Linked DNA regions of Homo sapiens: regions 2, 3 and 4 are each linked to region 1. The links are contacts of gene promoters, found by promoter capture Hi-C in blood cells and fetal thymus (Javierre and others, 2016). All regions are on one chromosome and are shown on one strand. The core of a region is centred on a gene start or on the middle of the fragment in contact, and the rest is flanking DNA. Distances in the headings are between cores, read along the strand shown. Region 1 holds the start of FNBP4 (formin binding protein 4). Region 2 overlaps CKAP5 (cytoskeleton associated protein 5). Region 3 overlaps CKAP5 (cytoskeleton associated protein 5). Region 4 overlaps ATG13 (autophagy related 13).

What was found. Contacts are between HindIII fragments. The CHiCAGO score rates a contact against its expected background, and 5 or more counts as called.
Region 2: a fragment that was not itself captured here is called in contact with the fragment with the promoter of FNBP4 in region 1 in 1 of 17 cell types (M0 macrophages); the score reaches 5.4 in M0 macrophages.
Region 3: a contact is called between a fragment that was not itself captured here and the fragment with the promoter of FNBP4 in region 1, in 3 of 17 cell types (erythroblasts, monocytes and fetal thymus). The highest score is 9.0, in erythroblasts.
Region 4: a fragment that was not itself captured here is called in contact with the fragment with the promoter of FNBP4 in region 1 in 1 of 17 cell types (naive CD8 T cells); the score reaches 5.4 in naive CD8 T cells.

What each region holds. Positions count from the first base shown.
Region 1 is chr11:47,765,562-47,768,982 of GRCh38, reverse strand. It overlaps FNBP4 (formin binding protein 4), which reads left to right and starts at 1,642. Exons shown (of 17, transcript NM_015308.5): 1 at 1,642-1,914. The coding sequence starts at 1,695. RefSeq lists a silencer at 1,628-2,237 and enhancers at 1,427-2,351, 2,498-2,557, 2,352-3,277. The HindIII fragment of the contact is 14,946 bases long and covers 1-3,421 here.
Region 2 is chr11:46,740,043-46,743,299 of GRCh38, reverse strand. It overlaps CKAP5 (cytoskeleton associated protein 5), which reads left to right. Exons shown (of 44, transcript NM_001008938.4): 44 at 1-252. Among named protein-coding and RNA genes, the nearest start is that of MIR5582, 12 kb to the left of the region's middle. The HindIII fragment of the contact is 5,631 bases long and covers 1-3,257 here.
Region 3 is chr11:46,765,031-46,768,353 of GRCh38, reverse strand. CKAP5 (cytoskeleton associated protein 5) reads left to right here. Exons shown (of 44, transcript NM_001008938.4): 27 at 691-779; 28 at 3,098-3,223. Among named protein-coding and RNA genes, the nearest start is that of SNORD67, 4.2 kb to the right of the region's middle. The HindIII fragment of the contact is 1,839 bases long and covers 604-2,442 here.
Region 4 is chr11:46,621,545-46,624,683 of GRCh38, reverse strand. All of the region lies in intron 1 of ATG13 (autophagy related 13), which reads right to left. Among named protein-coding and RNA genes, the nearest start is that of ATG13, 5.6 kb to the right of the region's middle. The HindIII fragment of the contact is 2,974 bases long and covers 253-3,139 here.

The DNA.
Region 1 (3,421 bases), core at 393-2,892:
GCAAAACCCTGTCTCAACTAAAAATACAAAAATTAGCCAGGCGTGGTGGTGGGCGCCTATTATCTCAGCTACTGGGGAGGCTGAGGCAGGAGAGTTGCTTGGACCCGGAGGGCAGAGGCTGCAGTGAGTCGAGATTGCGCCATTGCACTCCAGCCTGGGCAACAGAGCGAGACACCGTCTCAAAAAAAAAATGGCTTTAGCCCAGGAGTTTGAGGATGCAGTGGGCTATAATCATGCCACGTTACTCCAACCTGGATGACAGAGCAAGACACGTTTAAAAATAAAATTAGAAATAATCATTTTAAAAGATCAAATGCAATTCTACGTGTAAAGTGCTTGGTGACTGACACATAGAGCTCAGTAAGTATTAGATATTTTTAGTGGGAACTGAGCTGCTGCGGATATAAAAATAAATACCACTCGCATTCCTTAGTTTAGAGGGGAGACGGATGTCAACAGGATGTCAAGTGCCAGGGAGAGGCTGGGCAGGAGAGGTCACGCCTGCACTGCGTCTGCATTGCGCCCTGATGAAACAATAAAAGACTTTCATCATGTGATGCAGTAATTATTCCAGTCAGTGCAAAGGAAAAGTGAGGGAGGTGATGCTCCAAGTGGCGGGCTCCAGAGGCAGGAGACGGGAGAGGGGGCAGTGTTAAAGCAAGGGTAAATTAAAGCATGTTGACGATAGTAGTACAAAACTGGTAAGGTTCCTGTATGCCATCCCAACAATTTTAGGCTTTTTCCTTGTAGGTAGTGGAGTATCTCGTGATTTTTCCCAGCTAATAAGCGAGAAAATATGAGACATCTATTTGTGTGCTGCAGGAAATTACAAAAGCGTAAAAGACCCACTGTCCCATTTAATGTTCAATGCTATACCCAAAGTAAGCCACAATAATCCGGGCGAAACGTGGGGAAGGGCTCAGAAAACAGCACACCTTTCTTTTTTTTCTTGAGACAGTCTCACTCTGTCACCCAGGGTGGGGTGCAGTGGCGCGATCTCGGCTCACTGTAACCTTTGCCGCCGGGTTCATGCGATTCGCCTGCCTCAGTCTCCCGACTAGCTAGGATTACAGGCGCCTGCCACCGCGCCCGACTAAATCTTTTGTATTTTTAGTAGAGACGGGGTTTCACCATCTTGGACAAGCTGGTCTTGAACTCCTGACCTCGTGATCCACCCGCCTCGGCCTCCCAAAGTGTTGAGATTACAGGCGTGAGTGAGCTGGGCCCAGCAGCACACCTTTCTAGAAGACAGACAACATGAAACTCTAGGCCGAGAATAGCCACAAGATGGAGGACAAGTAGGCAAAGAAAAGGCTTGGGGAAAGCGCATGGGTGGAACCCGACGGAAGTGGGGAAGTCGTTCTAATTCAGGCCCTACCGCACTATTGGCTGGACTCTCACCCTTTTTCCTTTTCCATTGGCCACCGGTCCCTTCTCTGGGTCAAAACAGCCAATCGCCTAGCGCAGTTGGTAATCCCGCCCTTTCTCCTGGTGAGGAGGAGCCAGAAGAGCCGAAGGGTCCGAGGCGCTTGCGCAAGCGCGTGCTCCGCTGGTTGAAAGCGGATCCGGGCTGGAGGCGGTGTCACGGTGTATGAATATTGATTACGCGTCGCAGCGCCCAGGGCCCAGCGCCCAGCCTCCAGTGCCCGCCCCTCTCGGCCGCCCGACGCTCTCTGCTCGCGCTTGGGCTCGCGATGGGGAAGAAGTCCCGGGCGGTACCCGGCCGTAGGCCCATCCTGCAACTCTCTCCGCCGGGTCCTCGGGGCAGCACGCCGGGCCGGGACCCGGAGCCGGAACCCGACACTGAGCCGGACTCAACCGCGGCGGTCCCCAGCCAGCCCGCCCCGTCGGCGGCGACGACCACCACCACCGCGGTGACTGCCGCCGCGGCCTCGGACGACTCGCCTTCAGAAGGCAAGGGTGCGCGGGGGGACCTGAACTCGAGCTCAGGGCTTGCGGCCTAGGCTCCTCACGGCGCCTGGCCAGACCCGGCGAGGGAGGCGGGCGAGGTCGGCTTCCGAGGCCTGCCTGCTGCGGGCCTGCAGGCGGGGCGGCCCTGGGCTCCGGGCCGCAGAAGGGCCAGGCCGAGTTCTGCGCCCTCGGCCCGGGCCAAGCCCGAGGCGCCATCTGTGGTGCAGGGCTTGCCCCGGGAACGTTTGAAATATGACCGAAGTTCGGGCATCCTGAGTCTCCCAAACGCCCCGGGTCGGTTTTGGGTAACGCAGAGGGTGGATGTGAGGATGAGTTTCCGCGTGCGCGGCCTGTGACTGTGGGCCAGGCCTTTCCACACGTCATCTGCCTCCTTTCGGTTTTGTCGAAACGGGGATAGAGACGTTTAGAAAAAGCTCTTAATATTCCAGCTAGTAAGCATCCCCACACTAGCAGAACTGCTGGAGAAATGGAGCTGGTAGGTTCCTAAGTATTTGTGTGGTTCTCACTGGAGTGGTGCTTAGATTAAAAGTGACTCCAGGACTAGGCGCCGGAGAAGCCGCGACCGTTTCACATGTTCAGAGATCACGCTGGTTCGTTAATTGGAAAAAATCCGCAATAGCAGTGTTTGGTGTGTCTTGTAAAGGTCCTATCATAGCCTGGAGAATACTTACTGTTTTTGTATGTATTTGTAAGTATTGCAGATGTAACTTTTTAAGAGTTTTGTTTTGTTTTTTTCGAGACAATGTCTCAATCTGTCGCCCAGGCTGGAGTGCAGTGGCGCGATCTTGGGCTCACTGCAACCTCCACCTCCCGGGTTCAAGCGATCCTCCCGCCTTAGCCTCCTGGGTAGCTGGGACTACAGGACCCTGCCACCATGCCCGGCTAATTTTTGTATTTTCAGTAGAGACGGAGTTCATGTTTCCCGGGCTGGTCTCGAACTCCAGGGCTCAAGCGATCATTACAGGCGAGAGCCATCGCGCCCGGCCATGCAGATGTATTAATAATTTTTATTTACCATGGTAAGAGTCTTCCCTTGATGTTGAAGTTTGTAAGCAGATGAAAGACTCCAGGGCACGGTGACTCATGCCTGTAATCCCAGCACTTTGGGAGGCCGAGGTAGGCGGATTACTCGAGGTCAGGAGTTTGACCAGCCTGGGCGACAAGAGCGAAACTCCGTCTCAAAAAAAAAAAAAAAAAAAGATTCCAGCTCTGTGTTTATTATCTCCCAATTATTTGGGTCAATGAAATGTCCTTTCTTTTTTTTGAGATGGAGTCTTCCTCTGTGGCCCAGGCTGCAGTAACCTCTGCCTCCTGGGTTCAAGCGATCCTTCTGCCTCAGCCTCCCGAGTAGTTGGGATTACAAGCGAGTGCCATCATGCCTAGCAATTTTTTTATTTTTTGTATTTTTAGTAGAGATGGAGTTTCACCATGGTGGCCAGGCTGGTCTTGAACCCCTGACCTCAAGTGGCCCCCCCCCCCCCCCGTCTTG
Region 2 (3,257 bases), core at 114-2,613, 1.0 Mb after region 1:
ATTTTGGTCATGATTTCCCTCCAATTATCACCAGTCGTTTCAAGAAGCTCTTGGGCATCCTACCACTTTGCTGACCAAAGGCACACAAGATTGCGCCCAGAGATTGGCTGGGCTTCAGTGGTTCTCACACTACAACTAGATTTGTGTTCATTTGACTAATGGAGTTTGGGAAATCTTAGTGGTTTGCTGCTTGGTTGTATGAGTCTCTTTTGGTCCAGGCTAACAGTTGCTTCACATTCAGTCAGAGTAAGGATGAGAAAGTGAGCTGAGTATTCACCTCTGGAATAAATTCCACAGGACCTCCCTCCACAGTCAGAAAAACTCTTCAGGATGAAAAGGTTCTGGATTCAGGAGGAGATTTTGGGCAGTTATAAAGTTCAAAGGAACTTTCCTATTGTAGCCCACCTTCAATTCAATTGATGTCCAAGAAATGAAAGATTGATGGAAGATTAATCCTGTAAAGGTTCCAGTCATCGTTTTCAGGTGGCCCCGGAGCCTCCTGAAATTAAACTTGTCTCTCCTTTATAGTGGGAACATGGGAGTGGGTATTTGTTCACTGAAGGGATGATGGAGGCGTTTGCTGCTATAGTGGAAAGACATATTTAGAAAGAATGGCTACAAAGGCTGGGCCTGGTGGCTCACTCATACAACCGTAGCATTTTGGGAGGCTAAGGTGGGTGAATCACTTGAGCCCAGGAGTTCAAGACCAACATGGGCAACATGGCTCTACCAAAAAAATACAAAAATTAGCTGGGTATAGTGGCTCAAGCCTGTAGTCCCAGCTACTTGGGAGGCTGAGGTGGGAGGATCACCTGAGCCCAGGAGGTCAAGGCTGCAGTGAGCCGTGATCACTCCACTACACTCCAGCCTGGGCAACAGAGCAAGACCTTGTCTCAAAAAAGAGGAGGGAAACAAAAGAAGAGGAAAAAAAAGAGTGGCTGTACTCCTGTCTGGAATTAGCACAGCTGACTGGAAAAACCCAAGTCCCTAGAGCTTACAACACTGACCGCTATGTCGGAAGAAAACAGACTTATGAGAATGTGTGTTCTTGTTTAAAAAGCAGGTCCTGCATGTCACAAGTAATTCTGAATCCCTTCCCCCTTGATCGAGTTGATGCCCTGGGCTGCCAAATCCTGCAAGCTCACTGCCTTTCAGTCAACCAGAACCAAAGAATGAGGCCAAGGAACTCTGTCCTGTTTGTTTTCTGATGTGTTGAAAAATGAGAAAAAAAAAAAAAAACGTTATGAGGAGGGTGCTAAAGATCCCTATCTCAGGTCCCTTCCCGTGGAAAACCACGTTAGAAGATCCTAGGCCAGGTACTGTAGCCACAGGGTTTCCCTGCTCCACTCCACTATCCTGTGCCTGAGGCAGACGTTGATCTTCATTCTTTCCCTGAGCTCATGGATGAGACTTCTCAAGACGGAGCCATGCTCCATCCCACACCTGTGACCTCTGCCAACAGTAACCGTGAAGAATGTGCTCTGAAAGGGTATCTTTGAAGTTCTATGATTCTTTTTTTTGCAAGGGACTCTTGCTGTGTCGCTCAGGCTGGATGGCATGCAGTGGCATGCCTCTCTCCTCACTACAACCTCTGCCTCCTGAGTTCAGCCAATTCTCCTGCCTCAGCCTCCCAAGCAGCTGAGAAGCTGGGATTACAGGTGCCCACCACCACACCCGGCTAGTTTTTGTATTTTTAGTAGAGACGGGATTTTACCATGTTGGCCAGGCTGGTCTCCAACTCCTGACCTCAGGTGATCCACCAGCCTCAGCCTCCCAAAGTGATGGGATTACAGGCGTGAGCCACCATGCCCAGCCCATGACTCTTATAACTTAGAGGTCCCATTTCTTGGAAAAATAAATTGTTCCAGCTGGGAACTGCTGTGTGAGGAAACATTCCAGGAAGCAACTACCCCACTGATGGGCTATTTCCAGGGCCCAAGAGAGGGACGAGGTAAGCGGCAGAGGAACTTTCAACAGGCCCAATGCCCGGTCCAGTTCCCAGGCAATAGTGAGAATACGAGTGGTAGTGATTCACAGCTTACTAGGCACTAGGCATTGTGCTAAGGCACCATGTAAGTTCTTTCATTTAATCCTCATAACCGTATGAGGTAAGTAATGTCGTTATATACACCTTTTAATATACAGGTGGCCTTCCAGATCTGTGGGTTTTGCATCTGCAGATTCAACCAACTGCAGATTGAAAATATTTGTGGGGAAAGAAAACAATAAAAATAATACAAATTTTAAAATAATACAGTATAACTATTTACATAGTATTTACGTTCTATTGGGTGTAAGTCATCTAGAGATGATTTGAAGTATATGGGAAGGCCGGGCAGGGTGGCTCATGTCTGTAATCCCAACACTTTGGGAGGCCCCGATGGGTGGATAACCTGAGGTCAGGAGTTTGAGACCAGCCTGACCAACACGGTGAAACCCCATCTCTACTAAAAATACAAAAACTAGCCAGGCGTGGTGGCGGGCACCTGTAATCCCAGCTACTCGGGAGGCTGAGGCAGGAGAATCACTTGAACCTAAGAGGCGGAGATTGCAGTGAGCCGAGATCGCACCATTGCACTCCAGCCTGGGCAATGAGCAAAATTCCAACTCAAAAAGATAAAAATAAATTTTAAAAATGAAGTATATGGGAGGATGTGCATAGGTTATATGTAAACTGTGCCATTTTATATAAGAGATTTGAGCATCTGTGGATTTTGGTATGCATGGTTGGTTCTTCTTCTTTTTGAGACAGAGTCGCTCTGTCGCCCAGGCTGGAGTGCAGTGGTGCAATCTTGTCTCACTGCAAGCTCCACCTCCCAGGTTCATGCCATTCTCCTGCCTCAGCCTCCCACGTAGCTGGGACTACAGGCGTCCACCACCACGCCTGGCTAATTTTTTGTATTTTTGGTAGAGACAGGGTTTCACCGTGTTCACCAGGATGGTCTCAATCTCCTGACCTTGTGATCCATCCACCTCAGCCTCCCAAAGTGCTGGGATTACAGGCTTGAGCCACCGTGCCCAGCCCTGATTTTTATAAACAGGGTTTCACTGTCACCCAGGCTGCAGTGCAGGTGTAGTGACATGATCATGGCTCACTGCAGCCTCAACCTCCTGGGCTCAAGTGATCCTCCCAAGTAACCTTGACTACAGGCACATGCCACCACGCCTAGCTAATTTTATTTTTTGGGGTCTCACCACATTGCCCAGACTGATCTCGCATTCCTAGCCTCAACCTTAGTCTCCTAAATTGCTGAGAT
Region 3 (3,323 bases), core at 274-2,773, 1.0 Mb after region 1:
TTGGGCTTGGTGGTGCACGCCTGTAGTCCCAGCTATTCAGGAGGCTGAGGTAGGAGGACTGTTTTAGCCAGGGAGGTCAAGGCTGCAGTGAGCCCTGAACGTGCTATTGCACTCTAGTCTGTGTGACAGAAACCCTGTCTAAACAAACAAATGAAACTACAGTTTAAATGTTGGTAAATGAGATACAGATTTTCTGAATTAATTTCTCTCTTACGCTTAAAGATTTTGGGAGAAAAATTATTAGGAAAAAAAAATCTAAGCCAGGCACAGTGACTCACGCCTGTAATCCCAGCACTTTGGGAAGCCAAGGTGGGTGGATTGCTTGAGCCCAGGAGTTTGAGACCAGCCTGGGCAACATGGCGAAACCCTGTCTCCACAAAAATTACAAAGAAAATTAGCTGGGTGCGGTGGCACGGGCCTGTAGTCCCAGCTACTAGGGAGGCTGAGGTGGGAGAATTCATTGAGCCCAGGAGGTCAGGACTGCAGTGAGCACCGTGAAGGCACCACTGTACTCCAGCCTGGGAGATAGAGCAAAATCCTGTCTCATAAAAAAAAAACTAACTGAAAACATCTTATAAATTGATACATTTAAGACTGCAAGCTTCCTTGTCATCATTATATATTTAACCTGTCCAAAATAAAATGATATTAGTTAAAGTTTATAGTATATATATATTTTTTTCCTCAAAGCACCTGCTGAAGATTGTATTTCCAGCAGTACAGAACCCAAACCTGATCCAAAAAAGGCCAAAGCTCCAGGATTATCCTCTAAAGCAAAGGTATGTTAACTCTGTATACTTCGATGTAGACTTGCTTTTAAATATATTTTATATACTGAGTCATTCTATTAGGAAGGATCATATTATATATAAAAGAACATCACTGCTGTTGATATTATCAAATTATTTATACAAATTTCTGTGGTTCATTTTTAATAAGGTCCTAAAACGGAGACATCCTGCTCTCAAGAGGTGCTGTCATCTTCCTTTCATGTAGATTTTCGGGGAAAGATTTACTTTATTGAAAGAAGAAAGGGCCGGGCACAGTGGCTCACGCCTGTAATCCCAGCACTTTGGGAGGCCGAGGCAGGCGGATCACCTGAGGTCAGGAGTTCGAGACCAGCCTGGCCAACATAGCGAAACCCTGTCTCTCCTAAAAATACAAAAATTAGTTGGGCATGGTGGCACACCTGTAATCCCAGCTACTTGGGAAGTTGAGGCAGGAGAATCGCTTGAACCCAGGAGGTGGAGGTTGCAGTGAGCCAATATCTCGCCATTGCACTCCAGCCTGGATGACAGAGCGAGACTCAGGAAAAAAAAAAAAAAGGAGAAAGCATTTGTAGCTCTGGCATAATAAACACTTTAGGCTGATTTGGATTTAAGAAAAGGAAGTTAAATCAACCTCCTTCAAATTTGGCACTGTTGTCATCATATTAGAAGATGTTTCGGTTAGTCTGCAGGGAAATATCTTTTGTCCCAGTGGGATTTATTTTGATGCATCAGCAATTCTTTCAATATTCATGGAGAGTTGGACAATTTAAAGCAGTGTGTTCAAATGTTCAACTTTATCCTCTGGGTGATTTTTTCATTTAATTAAGTTTTAAAATCACAGTAAATTGTCATTATCTCTATCAAGATTGAGATTAATAAACATATTCAGAGTGTTAATTATTTAACACTTACAAAAGGAAAATTGCAAAACTGTGCAATGGGTAATGAATCTAATAGTAAGTCTAAATAGAGAATTATTTAATTTACTTCCTGTAATTGATGAAAAAATATAGAGAATGTTTTTTAACCAGTACATGTATTATTACACCCCCATTTTGGAGTACACACTCTAGGGCCTTTCTTCTAAATATTACAATTAACCATTTTTCTTCCCTATGCTCAGGCCCTTTAACTCCTCAGTGAATTAATTTAAATGGGTAATTATCTTCAACTATCCAATGACGTTGTTCTTTTCCTGTCTGCCTGTCCTCATCCCAAATTTAACAAGTGCTTATTTTAGTTTAGATCACGAGTGTTTTGCAGTATTTTTGACTCCGTTCTTAATGCCATAATTTTTTTCCCAATCTTTTTAAACTTACGAAGCAGTTTCATATAAATGATCTCATATTTGTTTGGTCTGAATGACATTAGTGTTTATACTAGAAAGAAATTGTGGCCAACTAGAAATAGTGGCCATGCTACATTTATAATAATAATGATTCCAGTAATGAAATTTGAATTTTACCTTAAATATGTGTACTATTGTTTACTATTTTCTTTCTATCTGATATGAAGATTTTAAATCTTGGATTATTTTTTAAAACCACTTTAGTGACTTAAATATTTAAAGCATTTCTTGTAACTTTCTCTAGAAGCAAGTTCAAAAGGTCTTCAGTTACACTGTTATGATAAGAGATACATTTAAATATCAATGGAAAGAAACAGAAAAGCTTTCAAACTAAGTGTTTGGAAATGTGTAAATGCCATTCAAGATGTCATTAATGGCTGAGGTGGGTGGATCACTTGAGGTCAGGAGCTCGAGACCAGCCTGGACAACATGGTGAAACCCTGTCTCTACTAAAAATACAAAAATTAGCCAGGGGTGGTGGTGGGCGCCTTTGGTCCCACCTACTGAGGAGGCTGAGTCAGGAGAATCACTTGAACCTAGGAGGTGGAGATTGCAGTGAGCTGAGATCACGCCACTGCACTCCAGCCTGGGCGACAGAGTGAGACTCCGTCTCAAAAAAAAAAAAAAAAAAAAAAAGATGTCATTAATATGGAAAGCTATAAATAGTGTTGAAGATTTCAAGAAAACAAAAACAAAAAGTTTGTGACCTAGACTAATGATCAGTAATAGCAGTTTTTCCAACTACATAACATGCCAGTCCAAGAACTAACCAACAGTTACTTAAGAATATTCTCAGAAAAATTTCTAGAGAACCTGTTCAAAAACATATACAAGATTCTGTGATGCATGTTTTTTTCATGTGAAATATCACGTAGAAAGATATCTCTGTTTTCTACAGTGCCCTTTTACTGGGCAGCAGCATCATATTCTTAAGGAGAAGTGGCCAAGCTAATCAGTATTCCCTGAACCTTGGTTGTAGAGTGCACAAGGGAAGAAGATGCCAAGCAAAACCAGCTTAAAGGAGGATGAAGACAAATCCGGGCCTATTTTTATTGTTGTTCCAAATGGAAAAGAGCAAAGGATGAAAGATGAAAAAGGATTGAAGGTAAGGAAGGATTAAGAATCGTCAGGAGATTTTTGCTTGTATTGTTATTCAAGAATAGTTTTGCTGTCTGAATTCATGTTATTGTTTAATATCTAGGAAT
Region 4 (3,139 bases), core at 490-2,989, 1.1 Mb after region 1:
TGAAGAAACTGACTTCACATCCCTTCTGATGTGATGTATTACTTACATAGCTTTCTTGCTAAAACTGTATAACCTGAAACTAACCATGAGGAAGTGATTGGACAAGCTCAAATTGAAAGGCTGAAAATTTAATAATATAATGGGCTCGTCACTCTTCAAAAACGTCAGTGTTATAAAAGAACAAAAAAAAAAAAATCTGAAGATCCATTTTAGATTAAAGGAGAATAAAGTGTGACAACTAAATGCAAAGCTTGATGCTGGACCAGTTCCTGGATTTCTTAAAAAGTTTCTGTGAAGGACAGTACTGAAACAACTGGCAACATTTGAACCCAACTGTATACTAGGTAACAGTATTGCATCAATATTAAATTTCCTGAATTTGGCTGGTTGTGGTGGCTCACCTTTGTAATCCCAGCACTTTGGCAGGCTGAGGAGTGTAAACACTTGAGGTCAAGAGTTCGAGACCAGCCTGGCCAACATGGCGAAACCCTTTCTCTAGTAAAATACAAAAATGAGCCAGGTGTGGTGACGCATGCCTGTAGTCCCAGCTACTCAGGAGGCTGAGGCAGGAGAATCGTTTGAACCCAGGAGGTGGAGGTTGCAGGGAGCCGAGATTGCGCCACTGTACTCCAGCCTGGGTGACAGCGAGACTCCATCTCAAAAAAAAAAAAAATTCCTGAATTTGATAAAATTACATTTTGGTCCACATTCTTATTCATGAGATATAAGTAACATCTCTGAAGGGTTCAGAAAAAAAAAAAAGAATAAGAATGTGTAAATATAATGCAAAAATAATAGTTATACAATATATAGGAGAAAGAAAGTAATGTGGTAAAGAGTGAACAATGTGCAAATCTAAGGGAAGAGTACATAAAAATTCACTGTAATATTCTTCCAACTTTTCTGTAGATTTGAATTAAAAAAAATCAAATTAACAAATAAAAAAACTAGTTGCCAGCCAGGCACGGTGGCTCAGGCCTGTAATCCCAGCACTTTGGGAGGCCAAGGCGGGCAGATCATCTGAGGTCAGGAGTTCGAGACCAGCCTGGCCAACATGGTGAAACCCCATTTCTACTAAAAATACAAAAATTAGCCGGGTGTGGTGGTGCACACCTGTAATCCCAGCTACTTGGGAGGCTGAGGCAGGAGAACTGCTTGAACCCGGGAGGCAGAGGTTGCAGTGAGCCAAGACTGCGCCACTGCACTCCAGCATAGGTGACAGAGTGAGACTCTGTCTCAAAAAAACAAAAACAAAAACAAAAAAACAAAACTAGTTGCCATCATATGGTCCATAATAGAGTGGAGAAAAACTTTCACCCAGCATAAATGTCTTCTAAAATTAGGTCTCTTTCTTTATGGACGTACTTCAAATGCACTTTTTCTTTTCTTTGAGACGGGGTCTTGCTCTGTTGCCCAGACTGGAGTGCAGTGGCACAATCTCGGCTCACTGCAAACTCCACCTCCCAGGTTCGTGCCATTCTCCTGCCTCAGCCTCCAGAATAGCTGGGACCCCAGGTGCCCGCCACCACACACGGCTAATTTTTTTTTTTTGTATTTTTAGTAGAGACAGGGTTTCACCGTGTTAGCCCGGATGGTCTCCCGACCTCGTGATCCGCCCGCCTTGGCCTCCCAAAGTGCTGGGATTACAGGCATGAGCCACGGCACCCGGCCCAAATACACTTTTTCAAACAGCTAGAATGATGACTCTAGCTGTACTTCCAAGATTTCATCACAGCATATCCTTGCCTTAGAATGAAGGTGGCACTTGAACCACGGCCAGTCCACTACAGCCAAATCTAAAAGAAATATATACATACAGTGTATATAAACAAAATTGCACCCCGAAGATGACAGAGTTTTGTCACAGCTTGTGAATTCTGTTCAACAAGTGTTGGAATCTAATCTGCTTTGCCCCTAAAATAGCATTTACAAGTTTTGGATATGAAAAACAGAAGAGAGAAAAATACACATTATAAAAGCAGAACATACGTGTATCAGTTTTTGGATACTAAATGACAGCCTTGTTTCTCCCCTTTGATTCAGCAGACACCATGGATTATATTTTTTTCCCTTCAGTAGTCAGCAGTTTGAATGTACAGAGAAAATGGACTTACAAAAACTTTCCGCAGTAGTTTGTTCTTGCTTTAAAATTTTGTTTTTGGTTTAGATGATGAATGCATGAAGTAAGGGAGTGAATCAGTTTCTTGTTTATATTTTTTTCACTTTTAAACAACAAAAAATTATTTAAAATATTTTAATGCATTCTTGGCCAGGTGCGGTGGCTCACGCCTGTAATCCCAGCACTTTGGGAGACCGAGGCAGGCGGATCACGAGGTCAGGAGATCGAGACCATCTTGGCTAACATGGTGAAACCCCGTCTCTACTAAAAATATAAAAAATTAGCCAGGCATGGTAGTGGGCGCCTGTAGTCCCAGCTAGACGGGAGGCTGAGGCGGGAGAATCGCTTGAACCTGGGAGGTGGAGGTTGCAGTGAGCCAAGATTGCTTCACCGCACTCCAGTCTGGGAAACAGGGCAAATACCATCTCTAAAATAAATATATATATATATATATATATATATATATATATATATATATATATATATATGTAAATAAATAAATCTCTGAAGTGGCCTTTCATCAACAGGGTGGACTGAACTGATGCTGTCAGTTCCCCCTCCCACTACAAACACATAAAGATGTAGATAAAATGACAATAAAAATGTTCGGACACACAGCTGAACTAGAAAAATGGTAGATATTCCAGATTCCATAAAGAGTACAATCAAAGCTATAGATGTAAGGAAAATCTGATGCCAGGGAACCGAGGCCTGTGAGGGACAAGGGTTAGGTCCTTTTGACAAACACATGAGAGTAAGAATAGGGTTGGGAGATATGACCTTAACCTTATAGGTAGGTAAAAGCCCTGTACCCTGCATAAAGCCCAACAGCCAAGTGCTCCTTTCCTTGATCACAGATGCTCAAAGAAGCCTGGAGAAGCCACAAAGAGGTTTGCCATCTATCATGGCAATGTTGAGAGGTGGGCAAGTTGCTCCCAAAATATTAAAAGCACAAGTCAGAAGAGCACATAAATGTAAGATCCATAATCAAACTACCTACATGCATAAGGAAATGAAAAC